3 separate regions of the Homo sapiens genome follow, and regions 1 and 3 are each linked to region 2. Evidence: promoter capture Hi-C in human tissues and cell types (Jung and others, 2019). All regions are on one chromosome and are shown on one strand. Each heading gives the region's core, a stretch centred on a gene start or on the middle of the fragment in contact. The rest is flanking DNA. Distances are from core to core; before and after follow the strand shown. Region 1 overlaps HERC1 (HECT and RLD domain containing E3 ubiquitin protein ligase family member 1). Region 2 holds the start of PLEKHO2 (pleckstrin homology domain containing O2). Region 3 has its middle 4.3 kb from the start of USP3-AS1.

The links. The method cuts DNA at HindIII sites, captures the fragments that hold promoters and counts their contacts. A contact is called where the count stands out against the background at its distance.
Region 1: a fragment that was not itself captured here is called in contact with the fragment with the promoter of PLEKHO2 in region 2 in 1 of the 25 tissues and cell types used here (pancreas).
Region 3: a contact is called between a fragment that was not itself captured here and the fragment with the promoter of PLEKHO2 in region 2, in 1 of the 25 tissues and cell types used here (dorsolateral prefrontal cortex).

The regions. Positions count from the first base shown.
Region 1 is chr15:63,777,881-63,781,339 of GRCh38, forward strand. All of the region lies in intron 1 of HERC1 (HECT and RLD domain containing E3 ubiquitin protein ligase family member 1), which reads right to left. Among named protein-coding and RNA genes, the nearest start is that of HERC1, 54 kb to the right of the region's middle. The HindIII fragment of the contact is 4,733 bases long and covers 1-3,459 here.
Region 2 is chr15:64,839,824-64,843,522 of GRCh38, forward strand. It overlaps PLEKHO2 (pleckstrin homology domain containing O2), which reads left to right and starts at 2,092. Exons shown (of 6, transcript NM_025201.5): 1 at 2,092-2,205. The coding sequence starts at 2,194. LOC124903508 (a long non-coding RNA gene) reads right to left here and starts at 333. Exons shown (of 4, transcript XR_007064682.1): 1 at 31-333. RefSeq lists silencers at 1,615-1,934, 1,945-2,384 and enhancers at 2,192-2,715, 2,748-3,299. The HindIII fragment of the contact is 9,878 bases long and covers 1-3,699 here.
Region 3 is chr15:63,603,395-63,606,928 of GRCh38, forward strand. It overlaps a transcript of FBXL22 not described here. Among named protein-coding and RNA genes, the nearest start is that of USP3-AS1, 4.3 kb to the left of the region's middle. The HindIII fragment of the contact is 8,176 bases long and covers 1-3,534 here.

The DNA of each region.
Region 1 (3,459 bases), core at 480-2,979, 1.1 Mb before region 2:
ATTCTACATTCATCTGGAAGTTTAATACACTCTATATAGGACAAGCTGAGTCCAATTTTATTGTTTCCAGGTAGAAGGCTAGTTATACCAACACCATTTATTAAGTAATCCAGGACTTCTACATAGTTGAAGACAATGGCAGCTGCATAGCTATCTGCCCAAAATTTAAGAAAAACAAGAAGGAAAAATTAAATTCTATACCAAACCACACCTGTAGCATAACTTGAAGATACAGAATGCCAAAATTGCAAATAATTGTAAATAAAAAAGAGAAAAAGTCAACCAATCCAGGGTACATGCTTTCACCTCCATCCAGCCATAAGGCTTTGTGGCAAGCAAAGGCAGACTAAGAAAAACTGCAGAAAAGACAGAGGAGAAAGGCTAGTGAAGGGGGCTAAAAATGATTTGGAGTGACTCCCAGAAAGATTAAATCCACACCGTATCTGAAAACACTGGAAAAGTATCTGGGCAGATCAGAGCACAGACTACAGGGAAGAGATTTTAAAGTACATTTAATTTAAAGCAGAAGGCACGGTTTAAGACAGCAGGTGCAATTTAAAAAGACAAGTGTTAAATAAGCATTTGTTGAAACGCAGAGGAAAGAAAAAGCAAAAAGGAAGAGAGAAGCATGCTTTAACAACTGAGTGGTGAAGGGTAAAAGAAGAAAAAGGGGAAATATTTAGTGTCCTGCAAGGCAAAATAGACCCATAAAATTGAAGACAGAACAACCCTTTCCTCAAGTAAAACAAACAAAATTTCTGCTATTGTATTTGGACTTTGCTATATTGACTGAAGAGAATGCAATTAAATTAAGAATATTATAAAATACTCGATACCACAAAAACGAACATGAGAAAACTCAAGTGCATACAGAGCTATTGCAGAAAACAAAACAAAATTAAATTTTACATTTATCAATTGAGGGAAATTCCCTGATGACGACAAAGCAAAGTGTAAGTTAACAATCCAAACAAAATTAAATAAACTGAAACATATGATGATATGAAAAATCCTGAATCAAAAATTCAAAAACTGAAAGCAGAAATAGACAAAAAGAAAGAAAAAGAAGAAAAGGAAAGGAAGAAAGAAAGGGAAAGAGGTAATTGAACTCAGGAAAGAAATATGAAGAAAAAGGCAAAATTATCTCAGCAATGAAGAATGAATTATAAAAGTGTTCAAGGAAGAGTAGACTCAATGACATAAAGAAAAATGAAAAGGGTGAGAGAAATAATTAGAAAAAGATAAGAAAAAAGAATAATATTCATATTATTGGATTACGTGAGGAAGAAAAATACAAAACAAACAAAAACAGAGCTGGTTTTATAGCTACAATGCAAGAAAACTTTCTAAAATAGAAAAAATATCTGAATCAATATACAAGGTACTTGAGAAAATTAACCCAGACAATCAACTCCAAGAAATAGCCTAGAAAAACTATTATATTTCAAAGACAAAGATAAAATCCTAAAGACCTCCAAGCAAAGAGATGAAATTACTTTAAAAAGCAAAAGAATTAGCCAGGCATTATTTTAAAACAAAATAGCACAGCCACAGCTTTTATAAAGCAAAAACTACAGGAGATGCAAGGAAACATAAATAGAAACACTAATAACGTGAGACATGAATATACCACTCTTAGTACAAGATGGATCAAGTGAACAAAAATAAGAAAACAGAAGATCTAAACAACAAAATAACTCACTTTTCCACTAACAGGATCTATTTCTGGATTCTCTATTCTGGTCCACTTGTCTATTCTTACAACAGTGACTTGATTACAATAGGCTTATAAATGTATAAATGTTCTGATGACTGGTAAGGCAAGTCCCAAAAGTTTAAGATGATATTATTCAGGCCAGGCACGGTGGCTCACGCCTGTAATCCCAGCACTTTTGGAGGTCGAGGTGGGAGGATCACGAGGTCAAGAGATGGAGACCATCCTTGCCAACATGGTGAAACCCCGTCTTTAATAAAAATACAAAAATTAGCCAGTAGTGGTGGTGCGCGCCTGTAGTCCCAGCTACTTGGGAGGCAGAGGCAGGAGAATCGCTCGAACCCGGGAGGTGGAGGTTGCAGTGAGCCGAGATCACAAGACTGCACTCCAGCCTGGCGACAGAGGGAGACTCCATCTCAAAAAAAAAAAAAAAAAAAAGATTATTTTATTCAATTATATGCCATCCCTTCCAACACACTATTGAGGTTCCAATCTGAATTGCATTAGATTTATGTACTTTCAGAAAATAGACATTTTTATGAAATTTGTTCATCCAAGGACAAAGTATGCATTTCTATTTGCTCCTATCCTATTTTAGATTTTCTTCATATAAATCCTGTGCTTTTCTGTTGATTCTTAAGTATTTTTGATTTTGTGATTACTATGAATGGAATTTCCTCATTTCCATTTCTGGTTAATTACTGCTGTCTAGTCATCTGGGTAAATCCATATATTTTCCAAAATTATACAAAGACAGAACAGGAAATGAATCAAAGAAACAGAGGCCATCTAACAACAGGAAATAAAGAAAGAAAACAAGCAAGTATTAAAAAGGTAAAACAGAAGGCCGGGCGCGGTGGCTCATACCTGTAATCCCAGTACTTTGGGAGGCCGAGGTGGGCGGATCACGAGGTCAGGAGATTGAGACCATCCTGGCTAACACGGTGAAACCCCATTTCTACTAAAAATACAAAAAAATTAGCTGGGCGTGGTGGTGGGCACCTGTAGTCCCAGCTACTCGGGAGGCTGAGGCAGGAGAATGGTGTGAACCCGGGAGGCGGAGGTTACGGTGAGCCAAGATCGTGCCACTGCACTCCAGCCTGGGCAACACAATGAGACTCCGTTTCAAAAAAAAAAAGGTAAAACAGAGACTAAAGGTTAGCTGTAAGACCGAGCACAGCTACTACATCAACATCTGTAAAATTCACCTATTAAAACCAAAAGATAAAGACTGATGTGAAATAATAATAACCTATATGCTAACTGAATAAAACATATATGAAAGTAGTTATGGCCCAAAATTTATAATCTCTGCTATAAATTAAATGTATATAACTATAAATCTAATAAGTAAATCATTTTTTAAATGTATATCCTAAGTGATGGATCTAAAACAAGTGATTTCAAAATGTTGAAGATAAAATGTAGGGTAATGATATAACAAACAAATGCAAACAGAAAAAGTATCATCTGTTAGGTAATAAATGGGACAAAAAGGGTTACTTGGTAATGATGAACAGTATAATCACTAATAAAACTGTCACAAACAGTTTTATTTTACTACAAGCAGAGTTATAAAACAATGAAGCGGAAACCACAGAGAATATAGGAAGAATGGCAACCACAGTAATAGAGACTTAAATACAGCCATACCTCATTTATTGCACTTGACTTTACTGTGCTGTACAGATACTGCATCTTTTTTACAAATTGAAGGTTTATGACAACCCTCATTTGAGCAAGTG
Region 2 (3,699 bases), core at 842-3,341:
ATGACAGAACTATTTGGATGTCAAACCAACCTGTCCTCACTGCTCTCTCCCTACAAAGGGCTGCTTCTGTGTAACAAAATGAATTTCCCCAGGGTCTCTGGTCTGCTGCAGGTGGAGCATGAGTTTCCAGATACAAGATCTTCTGAGTCCTTGATCATTGGAGTAGAATGCTGCACAGCTCTGCAGATTGAGGGAGTAAAACCATGTGGTGGCCGAAAGAGGTTGCTACATATACAGACTATCTCAGATCCTCAGCCTCAATTTTCCTTCATCTTTCCTTCCTTCCTTTCTTTCTCTCTTTTTCTTTCCTTTCTTTCTTTCTCTTTCTTTCTCTTTTCCCTCCTTGCGTCCCTCCCTCCCTCCCTTCTCTCTCTCTCCCTTTTTTTTTTTGACAGAGTTTCACTCCTGTTGCCCAGACTGGAGTGCAATGGCGTGATCTCAGCTCACTGCAACCTCCGCCTTTCGGGCTCAAGCGATTCTCCTGCCTCAGCCGCTCAAGTAGCTGGGATTACAGGGATGCACCACCTCGCCTGGCTAATTTTCTATTTTTAGTAGAGACGGGGTTTCTCCACGTTGGTCAGGTTGGTCTGAACTCCCGACCTCAGGTGATCAGCCTGCCTCAGCCTCCCAAAGTGCTGGGATTACAGGTGTGAGCCACCGCTCCCAGCTCTTTCTTTTCTTTCCTTCCTTCCCTCCGTCCTTCCTTCCTCTCTCCTTCCTTGTTTCTTTTCTTTCTTTCCTTCCTTCATTTCTCTTTCTTTTCTTTTTCTTTCTTTCCTTTTTTCCTTCCTTCCCTCCCTCCTTCCTCTCTCTCTCCTTCCTCTCTCTTTCTTTTCTATTCTTTCTTTTTCTTGACCAGTGTGATAATATCAGCCTCAATTTTCTTCATTCCTTTAGCTAAAGGATCCCAGGCCTAGGCATGAGGGAGAAGTGTACCTGCATCTCCTTCCCCCTTGGCCTGGGAGCCCCAGGCTGCCCTTTTCCGTACAGGGCTGGAAGTAGCCTGGGAGCCTGAGGGCTGGCAGAAGGCCGTGAAAGGGGAGCTTGGTCGCTGGCACAGCCGCTGCTATGGCAGCCAGAGCCGAAGAAGGTCACCATTGATCTCACATGCACTTAATTTTCCCTTCCTTGGCATGGGACGGGGTTGACCAGGAGAGCTAAGGGGGAGTATGCGTGTGTGTGTGAGAGGGGAGCGGTGCTGCAGGCTGCGATGCAGCCAGTTACTTTCTCTCTCTGGGCCTCAGTTTCTCCAATGTAAAATGAGGGCGCATGGTATAACTAAAATCATTACTCTCTGCTGGTCCCCACACTCCCACTCTCCAGTAAGGCTGTCAGGGCTGCAAGCTCACCGCGGGATCGGGGGGATGGTCGACCCTCAGATACGGGAGGGATTGAGCGATGCCCAAGGAGAGCAGGAGAACACTGCGCTTGGAGACCCCTGAGAGCCAGGGGCGGGCCGCCCCCTAAAGGGACCCCGGAGTCCCGACTCTCAGCTCCAGCTCTTCCTGTGACACCACCCTCCGGACAGAGACCCAAGCTCCAGGCCCGGCCCCGCCCAGAGGTTCCAGGGAGAAGACCAGGCCACCGCCCACTGCCCGGCGTCGGGGAGGAAAGAGGAGGAGCCTCTGTGTGCCCACATCTCTGGCCGCCCAGGGCAGCTCGGCTCGGTCTCGCAACCCCAGCCCACTGGTTCGGGAGACCTCAAAGGCTCCACCGCCAGCGCCCCCAGCGCTCACTGTGTGCGCCCCACCCCAGCCCTGCCTGCGCGCCGCTCCCGCCACCCTCGCCTCAGTCTCTGGGCCGGAAGCCCCCTCTCCTCCCCCGCCGCAGCCCCCTCCTAGTCCCTCTCCCTCCGCCGATGCGGGAAACCTTCTCCGCCCCGTCCCGCCCTCTTCCTCCAGTTGCATCTCCGCCCGGCTCCTCCGTCCAGTCTCCAACCCAGGCCCCGCCCCTCCCCACCCATTTCCCGCCCTGGGCCGGGCCCCCGGCCCCACCGCCCCCTCCCCGGCCCCGCCCCGGCCCCCGGAAGCCTCACCCCGCCCCCGGCCCCGCCCCCCCGAAGTTTCTTGGGCCCCCGGCAGCCGGCGGGACAGAACGCGGAGAGTCGCCGCCTGGCCGGGCGTAGACGCGGTGGCAGAGCCCGCGCGGCGCTGGAAGCGAGTGGCGGAGCGGCGGGACCTCGGCGGACTCGCCATGGAGGAGGAGGTGAGGGCGGGGCCCGGCGGGGCGTTGGGCTGGGGTCCTCGAGCCCCTCACGGGGATTGCGGTCCTGGGCTCAGGCCCTCGTTCCTGCCCGCCCCACTCCCGCCAGTCTCACCTCAGGAAGAGCCTGGGCAAATGGGGCAGGGGCGAGGGGCTGGATCCATATCGGGGACTTCGCAGACCGCGTCCTCCTTCATTCTCGCTGACTTTCTCACCAGTTGTGGGGCGTCGTGGTTGTTACCGTTCCCATTGGATTGACCAGGAGACTGAGACTCCAGCGAGATTGATGACTTGCTGAAAGTGGCCTGGGTGACTGGGCTCGAACCCCGATTACCGTGGTCGGATCCTGACTCTCTCTCTCTCTCTGTGTGTGTGTGTGTGTGTGTGTGTGTGTGTGTCGGATCCTGACTGTGTGTGTGTGTGTATGTGTGTGTTGGGGGGTTCCTGTCTCAAGGATCGGATCCTGACTCTGTGTGTGTGTGTATGTGTGTGTTGGGGGGTTCCTGTCTCAAGGATGTGACCATGCTTTGGTGGCAGGAGGATTGGAGAAGTTGCTTTTTTCTCCCTTGTATAAGTCTCTGTATCTTTTCCCCCACTCTCTCCCCGCTCCACATCCATCTGAGCAGCTAGCTGTAGGGAAGGAATCGGGAGTCCGGCCCACCTAGGGTCTGATCTTAGTCCCTGCCTTCCCCACCCGAGGGCTGGACCAACTGTGTCCCTGGAGCCTCCTTCTAACCACTCAAAACACTCTTGGCCTGGGATTGGGTCTTGCCCCTGCCCCTGCCCTTTACTTGCAAACTCAGTTCTGCCAGCAGCCGCTTTATCCGAGGGTCCAGCACGCAGCAAGCACTTAATATATGCCTGTGGAATGATTAAGTTAAAATGAGGGGCCTGTTGGGTCTAGAGGAAGGTGAATTTGTTTCTTATCCCCTGAGGGGGTCCCAGCTTCAGCCCCTCTCAGCCCAAGGGAAGGGGCATGTCTTTGCCTCCTTGGATGGGGAGGAAAGATGAAGTTCTCTGCCTTGGGGGAACCCTGGCCAGCTGGGAAGCCCTGAGTGGACCGGACTGCCTGTGTCCCTTCAGTGCCCACCTCCCACTTTTCCAGGGCCATGGATAGGAGCAGCTAGTGGTCCGTCAGGGCTCCCTCTAGGCCAGGCCCTGCCTTTCTGTGGGATGGTAGATAAGTCACTTCCCCTCTCAGCCTTCATTTCCTCTTCTACAAAATATAGTGCCTGTCCTCCTCATACTCCTGGCCTGACAGTGGCCGGTTCTCTCAGTGGGTGAAGGTAGGGGGCAAAGTCAGGCCTCTGTGATTTGCTGCGGTTTCTTTCTGGCTGTTAGGTGGGGCTGCCATCTGCCTGCCCCAGGCCCCTGCTGCAAGGGCTGGGCTCTCTGGCCAGGGCCCCTCCCCTGCTCCCAGAGGATGTGGGTCAGGATTACTCCATCTCCTGATCTGCGCTGGCCCCTGATTAAGGGAAGTTCTCCGGACACCTCCTG
Region 3 (3,534 bases), core at 382-2,881, 1.2 Mb before region 2:
ACTAGTTTTGGGTAATAAATTTGCTTTTTATTACTAGACTTCGTTCTTGTTAATTCAAGCATCTGCACCTGCTTTGTTTGGTTATGGTAAGGGATGGGGGTAGCAGTGGATGGACAGATTAATGTGAGGAAGAAATGAGAGATGAAGGTTCCCCCTCAGCCCAACCTACCCCCAGAAGGAACCAGGGCGCCATGCACAGATGATAGGTGAAGTCCCAGCGGCCCTGGATTTTGTTCCAGGCAGAACATGTGGACAGGCAAGCAGCACCCTGTCCCACACCAGCCCTTCTGGGGACTGCCAAAGGGCTCCGGGCTGGGGCAGTGCTTACTCCAGAAACAGGGTAGCCACAGTAAGCCCTGGCCCAGCATAATCCCTTTGTCAGGAGAGCCAGCTCTGTCACACCACCAGCTGCAGTGGAGTGGCAGGACTCTGCTACTAGCCTGTGAGACACAGGCTGCTTTTTGGTGATTTCTCAGTTTGCCCACCATTGCTTTGCACTCTGGAGAGGCGTTGTTGGGAACGAATTTTTCTCCCATTACTCTGAACACTGTTGAAAGCAAGCTCAGGCTTCCAGGGGGTTGAATGTTTGTCTACAACAGAGCCACTTAAACCCCAGGCCTTTGTTTTCATCTTCTCCAAAAAGCCCCAATTTCTAGTATGTTCTATTTGTCCTAAATTGGTGGCTTAGCCTGGACAACAACAGGATCCTGGCTTCAGGATCTAATGGATCTGGGTTTCCATCCCATTTCCCTCACTTTCTAGCTCTGTGACCAAGGACAGATTGGCCCTCTCCAAACCTGTTTTCTTATCTGAGTACTAAGGATAACAAGGGAACCTTGCTTTTGGGGTTCTTTTAAGGACTGTGATTATGTAAAGCAGGGGTCACTATAGGTTGAGCTAGAATGGGGTAACCTGCATTCCCCGACAACCCCCCTTTCCCATGGAAGCTCTTTTGTAGTAAGGGTTAAGTTCCCAGTTAACCCTCCAATGCCAACTAACTCCCCTGCATCCCAAGACATAGTGATCACAGAACTCAAGCAGTGCTGGCAGCTGTGTCCAGTGCTGTTTCTAGGGACCCAAATTGGCCCCCACCTTAGCCAGAGGAGCTTTGGGTTCTGAAGTGAAGGGTCATTTTAGGTGCCCCCAGAAGGTGGGCACTGATGGAGACACATGGCTCTCCACTCTGCCTTCTAACAGACACTGTTCACCACCAGGCATGAGCAAAACACTTAACAGAGCGCAATACCTCACTTAATCTACAAAACCACTTTTGGAGCTTCCAGATAGCTACATGCATGGAGGTTCCTGGAGGGTGGTGTGTCCAGGGAGGGCATGGAATCTCCGTGCCCCTTCCCCACTAAATTAAAAGGTAAAAAACAGCCAGGTGCAGTGGCTCACGCCTGTAATCCTAGCACTTTGGGAGGCCAAGGCGGGCGGATCACCTGAGGTCAGGAGTTCAAGACCGGCCTGATCAACATGGTGAAAAACTCTCTTCTAAAATACAAAAATTAGCTAGGCATGATGGCGGGTGCCTGTAATCCCAGCTACTTGGGAGGCTGAGATGGGAGAATCGCTTGAACCCGGGAGACAGTGGTTGCAGTGAGCCGAGATCGGGCCACTGCACTCACTGCACAGCCTGCGCAGCTGAGCAAGACTCCGTCTCAAAAACAAAAAAAAAAGTAAAAAACAAAAGAAAAATCCTTTCAAACTTAGGTTAGCATATAACAAAGAGCCCTGCAGACTTAATTAATCCACCAACTAATTCATCTCACAAGCATTTACTGGGTATTGGCCATGGGCTGGGCCAGGCCCTACCTGGAGTGACTCAGCCCTAGTTAGAAGACATGCAGCTGAGGTTGAGGGGGTGTTCTTGAGTGATCTCCAAGCTTTGCCATTCATAGCTTTTGACGAGATATGACCTCTCTGAGCCTCCGTTTCTTTATTTGTAAAATGGGACCAATACCCTCTTGGGACTGGGGGATAGGGGGAGGTATCCTCATATCCTTGGGGGGCTAGAAAAGCTGAGTGCCTGGCACAACACACAAATCCCAGGCACTGGGAAGAAGCAAGCCAGGTCTATCTGTGGGTAAGCCAGGCACCCTTTGTGGCAGACAGAGCTTTTGAGCTGGGCCACAGGTTCCAACCGTTAAGGAGAATATTTCCATTGGCAGGCATGGCACAGCAAAGGCAAAGGTCAAGAAGCCCAAGGCATATCCAGGGAAGGGGTGAGCCAGGGCTGATGGAAGCCTGATTGTATTCCCGAGCCACCCAGAAATGGTTTGGGATTATCTATGCCCTCACAGCCTCTATTAGATCATAGACATCCCTCAACTCCTGCAATGCTAACTCTTTCTAAGGTTTGGCCAAGGCAGCGAATGGTCACTTGCAGGTGAAGGTGGTGGGAGAGAACAGAACCTCACCACTGGGGCAGGACACTGCTCCCTGGCTGAAGGCTGACCTGTCACCACGTTGCACTGGTCTGCATAGGAGCCCCAGTGCCGGCAGAGAGACCAGGGCCACAGGCTCTTAGGTCAGGGTTCCAGATCTCCCCCAGGAGGCAGCAGGCTGCTAGCAGGAGGTGGTGCTCTGAGGCTTGTCTTACAGAGACACACTGGCCTGTTTCTGCACAGGATGAGTGTTCGGAGGGGAAGTGACTGAGCCACCCCGGCTCTACCACGGCACGCTGACAGGAAGCAGAGGCTCCCAGTTCTAGTCGGGGCACACCTATGATCCAACTTTCCCTCTCCTGACCTTGGATTCTTGGTTTATAAAGGCAGAGATCATCTGACCCCTTAGAGACTTTCCCTCCAGCTCTAGGATTCAATGCCCAAGATCTGCTTTTGGCTAAAAACCAAGCTCACAAGATGTGGGCTTCATCCGGCCAGAAGTCCTGGGCAAAGGCCACAAAGCTAGGAGGCCCAGAACAAAGCCATACTTTGAAGGATGTCTGGAGAAATCTTAAATTTTAAAAACTGATGGTCAACGTTTGCTTGAGGCTGCTTAAGGGTCATAAAAACTGCAAGTATCTGTTAAGTGAATGAGGCCAGCAAACAACTGCCTAAGCCTCTCTAAGAGCTGAAAGTAAACCAAGGGAAGCACCTGCACCAGGCCCACTTCAGCTCCTCAGATCAGGGACTTGTGCTTCCCCCTTTCCAGAGTTTTCAAAAAGTCAAGAGAGGCCGGGCACAGTGGCTCATGTGTGTAATCCCAGCACTTTGGGAGATCAAGGTGGAAGGACTGCTTGAGGCCAGGAGTTCCAGACTAGCCTGGGCAACATAGTGAGACCCTGTCTCTGCAAAAATGAAAACATAGTCAAGACAATGAGGAAATAACAGTTTCTGGCAACGAAACAGTGTGTGTTATAAAATCATGGCACTGTGCAGATTCCCCTCACAGGGTCAAACCTGAGCTGCTGTCTGTTAGCCCTGAGCCCAGGACCTGCAACCATGAGTGCCAGCCTTCTGGGGGTCCTCCTGCCCCCGAGTCCAGAGCAAACTGTGGCAGCAGCACAGGGTGAGGCATTATTTTGAATTT